2 separate regions of the Homo sapiens genome follow, and region 1 is linked to region 2. The links are contacts of gene promoters, found by promoter capture Hi-C in human tissues and cell types (Jung and others, 2019). All regions are on one chromosome and are shown on one strand. The core of a region is centred on a gene start or on the middle of the fragment in contact, and the rest is flanking DNA. Distances in the headings are between cores, read along the strand shown. Region 1 overlaps PDE11A (phosphodiesterase 11A). Region 2 holds the start of HOXD9 (homeobox D9).

Region 1 (2,700 bases), core at 158-2,657, 1.6 Mb after region 2:
GAATAACCCACATACAAAGGTCAGTGAAGATATTCATAAATTTAACAACACTAAGAGCTTTAATTTAAAAAATTAAGAACTCAACCATGTTTAGACAGGTTGGCTAGTTTTGTTAGTGCTGGGTGGAACACGCATTAGAAACTTTTTTTCATCATGGTGCATTTATTAAGACATATTGTGTATCAAGCATTGTGCTAAGTGCTTTATAGTATTCCATTTAATCCTGCAACAACCCCATGGGTAAGATTCTATTACTAGTCCCAGTTTAGCCTCCATAGCACAGATGAAGTAACTGAGGTTAAGAAGATAAGCGACTTTCTCAAGGTCACATAACTAGAAAACTGCTGGGACTAGAAATCAATCCCAATGAATCTAGCCCTGCCCTCTGTGTTTGTAACCACTACCCTATATTGCCCACACAATCATTTGAATGCCTCTTAGCTTAGATCCACTGCAGCACAGCATGGAATTATTGCTTCCAGAGATTTTCTTCCATGCAGCTTTAAAAAACTTATTTATTTTTGTGGTCTTGTGAATCTGTCTCTCATCATTCATAAGTTCCATAAGGAAAGGATTCAGATTCTCATATGTCAGCAATTATCATAGCCTAGTACTTTTCTCATGGCAAGTAATTAATAAATGTGGGTTGGTGGGATGCCAAGTGCATAACCTCCTGAGCCAAACAGATGTGCATTTGAATCTGAGTTTGCTGCGTGCTAAAGCTGTGGCCTTGAGCATCAGTGTCCTATTCTGAGAAGGGAACACAATGATAACTATCTTACAGTCATTGAAAAGCTTCAGTGAGACAAAATACTTAGCACAGTGCCAGGTTCATAGGAGGCCCTCAGAAAAAGACAGTGTGTTAGTCTGCAAAATACCACAAATTGGGTGGCTTAGACAACAGAAATTTATTTTCCCACAGTTCTGGAGGCTGGAAGTGCAAAAGCAAGGTATTGGCAGGTTTGGTTTCTCTTGAGGTCTCTCTCCTTGGCTTGTGGATGGCTGCCTTCTCGCTACGTGCTCACACGGCCTTCTCTCTGTACATGTGCACCTCTGGTGTCTTTTCCTCTTCTTGTAGGACACTAGTCATTGGATTACAGCTCAACCATATGACTTCATTTAGCCTTAATGACCTCTTTAAAACCCCTATCTCCAAATACAGTCACGTTCTAAGGTACTAGGGATTAGGGCCTCAACATATGAATTTGGGAGTGGGGAAGAAACAATTTGGTCCATAACAGACAGTTATCATTATTGCAAATGAATTGAGCACTAAATATCTAGAAATTCAAAATAAATGTTCCATGTCAGACCCAAAAATGGTGGTCCCTTTAAAGTGTCCTGATTACAATTTTAGTTCTTTCTCTCCTTGGTGCCTTAGAGAACGCAACCTAGAAAGGCTTTTTCTCTTTAGGGAACTGCACCATATTCACTCTTGGAAAGAAATATATTCAATATGGGGTTATCCAAGATACACTGGAGGAAAACATGATACATCAAGTCCAAGTTAAAGATAAGAACTGGGTGTGATGGCTCATGCCTGTAATCCCAACACTTTGGAAGGCCAAGGAAGGAGATTCACTTGAAGCCAGGAGTTGGAGATGAGCCTAGGCAAGATCCTATCTGTACAGAAAAAAAATTAGCCGGGCACAGTGGTGCACGCCTGCAGTCCCAGCTACTTGGGAGGCTGAGGTGGGAGGATTGCTTGAGCCCAGGAGTTCAGGGCTGCAGTGAGCTAGGATCACAACACTGCACTGCAGCAGCCTTGGTAACAGAGTGAGACACTGTCTCTTAAGAAAAAAAAAAAAAAAGATAAGGATCAGAGGACTGTAACCTTGTCAAATGCAATTATCAGGCTGCACAGTCTGCCAGGGAAGGAGACCCTCTTGTGAAGAGCTGGCAGTGGAGTGCTTCTCCAGTCCAATAATCTTGTTGAGTGCACCCTCCCTTACTATGCCTAGGTTCCTATCATTATACTCCCTGTATTTAGAGAAAACTATACATGACTATCCTGTTTAGAAAAGGTCCAGGAAAGATTTTCCCTTCTCGGGGAGCCCTAGTATGACAATCCCAGTTTGTCTCACCCCATCTAGCTCTACGGAACCCCTGGCCTGCAGCTCTAATCCTCTCTATTGCCCCTGATGAAGTCTTTCTTGGTGCCTCCAAGCACAGGCAATGTCTGTCACTTCGATCTTCCCTTACATTTTGTCCTTTTCTCTCCTACAGCATTTACCATAGACTGCTCTCCATCGAAGTTGCTGTGCAGTCAACCACTCACTCAGTTCATTTGACAAATACTTAGTGAGGGCTTGCTATGTGTCAGGTACATTGCCAGGTGCTATGCAGGTATCTATGCATCCCACAAGACAGGGACTCTCTGAAGGGCCGGACAGAACAGAAACTGTGTTTGCCTCATTTTTGTACCAGCTAGAGAGTCCACCCCTTGGCAGGCTGTCCCTAAATGTTAGCTAAATTCAATGGACAGATGTGAAAGGGGACTTTCTCTGAGAACACTTTCCTCAGGAGGAAGACAAGGCTAGGAAAGTAAAAGGAGGCAATGTCTTGAGGTCTGAAGAAAAGCTCCATTTCCAAAGGTCAGTAGAGGTAATGGAGGTTCTGACTTTTAATCCCCATCCTGAAAAGGGAGGCCCCAGCTAAGAGGAGAGGTGGCAGAGCCAGCAAGAGGAAAGTGTTAGGGAC
Region 2 (2,700 bases), core at 156-2,655:
ACCATTAGCTGTTGATAGCGGGCCATGTATCCGAGGAAAGCCTGAGCTACAAGGCAAAGGCATCCCATCTGGAACAAAATCAGAAAGCTATTGGCAAAGGTAATCAATCAGGCCATAAATAGCCATTTACCCGCTTCCTTTTCGGGGCTGGAGGTGGGCCGGGAGCCCTCCAAGGGTGAGCTGGGCAACTTGTAGAGCAAGGAATATGCCCTCCGCTGCCGGCGCCCCGGCCGCTTTTGTCTGGGCTCCCAGCCGGGCTTCCGAGGCTTTGTACCATGGATTTGGGAGTGACAATGGGCATTTCCCTCAGATTCAAGGCTGCTCAACCTCACCTCTGTAGGGGGAAAAAAATCAGAAGGGAGTGTCCCAAGGACCTAGCCATTCGGCCGAATTTTTTAGACATTTTGGGAGTCTCCTCCGAGGCCTTTAAGTGCGAACCGCGCGAAGCGGCCCTGCCCGGGGAGACTCGCTGAGGCAGGGCTGAGGCGGCGGGCGGGAGCAAGCTGCTCTAGCATTTGGGTTCTGCCCTGTGGCGTGTTCTCTTCCAGGGCCTTTCCAGCATCATCGGAGAAGACGAAGCACCCTGGCCGCCACTGTCCGTGCTGCGCCAACTCGCCCGGCCGCCCGCCCTTCCGAGGGCAGGCAGAAGCCCCTCTGTGTCCTCCACCGCCGCGCCCCGGCTCGCCCCTCGGGCCGCGGCGTGTGCCCAGCCTCACGTCGGGGTGTGTGTGGCCGCGCGGGCGTGTGTGAGTGTGGCAGGGGGAGGGGGCCCTCCGATCTGCTCCATCCGTCCGTTTTATTAGGGACACATTAATCTATAATCAAATACACCTCATAAAATTTTTATTGAAAGGCATAATATCATTACAGAGGTCTTCCACCTGTTTTAAACAACACGACAAGCTGTGAGCAAGCGTGTGTGTGGGGATGTGTGGGGAGGGGTGGGTGTGAGTAGGGAGAGAGGCGAGGGGAGAACAGCTCCCCTCGGGCGCTAGGGGCCGCCCCGAGGGCCCGCCTGCCTCGGGCGACACCGGCCTGGCGCCCCCGCGGCCGCTCCGTGTGCCCTGGACTCGCCGCCCGCGGCTCGGAAGCTGGAGAGTCAGCGACGGGGCCCGACTGCGGGACCGAGGGCTGCAAGAAGAAGCGAACAAATAGTCCCCAGCGCCTCCTCTGGATGCGGTCGCGTCTGTGGTCCTGGCAGCCGCTGGGCGGGCCAGGCCAGGTCGGGCCGGGCCGAGCCGGGCACATGGACCTGGGCCTGCGGGCTCTAATTGCGGCGCTTATGTTGATGATTTTTTTTTTAATCACAGCAGCCCCCAGTTTAGCGGACTGATTTACTCCCGGTATTGGTAAATATGATCACGTGGGCCGCGCGACCAATGGTGGAGGCTGCAGCCTGCGAACTAGTCGGTGGCTCGGGCGCCGGCGGGGAGCTGCTCGGCGGCGGACAGTGTAATGTTGGGTGGGAGTGCGGGACGCCTCAAAATGTCTTCCAGTGGCACCCTCAGCAACTACTACGTGGACTCGCTTATAGGCCATGAGGGCGACGAGGTGTTCGCGGCGCGCTTCGGGCCGCCGGGGCCAGGCGCGCAGGGCCGGCCTGCAGGTGTGGCTGATGGCCCGGCCGCCACCGCCGCCGAGTTCGCCTCGTGTAGTTTTGCCCCCAGATCGGCCGTGTTCTCTGCCTCGTGGTCCGCGGTGCCCTCCCAGCCCCCGGCAGCGGCGGCGATGAGCGGCCTCTACCACCCGTACGTTCCCCCGCCGCCCCTGGCCGCCTCTGCCTCCGAGCCCGGCCGCTACGTGCGCTCCTGGATGGAGCCGCTGCCCGGCTTCCCGGGCGGTGCGGGCGGTGGCGGTGGTGGTGGAGGCGGCGGTCCGGGCCGCGGTCCCAGCCCTGGCCCCAGCGGCCCAGCCAACGGGCGCCACTACGGGATTAAGCCTGAAACCCGAGCGGCCCCGGCCCCCGCCACGGCCGCCTCCACCACCTCCTCCTCCTCCACTTCCTTATCCTCCTCCTCCAAACGGACTGAGTGCTCCGTGGCCCGGGAGTCCCAGGGGAGCAGCGGCCCCGAGTTCTCGTGCAACTCGTTCCTGCAGGAGAAGGCGGCAGCGGCGACGGGGGGAACCGGGCCTGGGGCAGGGATCGGGGCCGCGACTGGGACGGGCGGCTCGTCGGAGCCCTCAGCTTGCAGCGACCACCCGATCCCAGGCTGTTCGCTGAAGGAGGAGGAGAAGCAGCATTCGCAGCCGCAGCAGCAGCAACTTGACCCAAGTAAGTGCAAAAGAAATTGCCCCCTGATTTATTGCTGAAACCTGTAAGGCTCGAATGTGCAAAACTGATAGTTTTACTAACCTATAAAAACGTCTAGACGCCTACCCAAGCCTAGGCGAACAACATGCATCCATAAAAAGAGCTTCCCATAACCACCTACCCTGGGCGCTCAGTTAGTACGGTAAACAGAGCGCGAGCATTAAGGCTTTTTATGATAATTCCCCACAAGTTGTGAAAAGCGACCATCCTTGGTGAAATTAATTTAACGACCTCTCTTCCCCACCCTGTGGTCTCTCCCTGCCTCCCCTCCTCTCCTCTCTCCCCGTCTCCAAACCTCCCTCTTTGTAGACAACCCCGCCGCGAACTGGATCCACGCTCGCTCCACCCGGAAAAAGCGCTGTCCCTACACCAAATACCAGACGCTTGAG

The links. Contacts are between HindIII fragments. The study calls those that stand out against the background at their distance.
Region 1: a contact is called between a fragment that was not itself captured here and the fragment with the promoter of HOXD9 in region 2, in 1 of the 25 tissues and cell types used here (dorsolateral prefrontal cortex).

Annotation. Positions count from the first base shown.
Region 1 is chr2:177,740,244-177,742,943 of GRCh38, forward strand. The region is part of intron 10 of PDE11A (phosphodiesterase 11A); the gene reads right to left. Among named protein-coding and RNA genes, the nearest start is that of PDE11A-AS1, 68 kb to the left of the region's middle. The HindIII fragment of the contact is 3,830 bases long and covers 1-2,700 here.
Region 2 is chr2:176,121,314-176,124,013 of GRCh38, forward strand. It overlaps HOXD9 (homeobox D9), which reads left to right and starts at 1,406. Exons shown (of 2, transcript NM_014213.4): 1 at 1,406-2,272; 2 at 2,621-2,700. The coding sequence starts at 1,456. The HindIII fragment of the contact is 11,890 bases long and covers 1-2,700 here.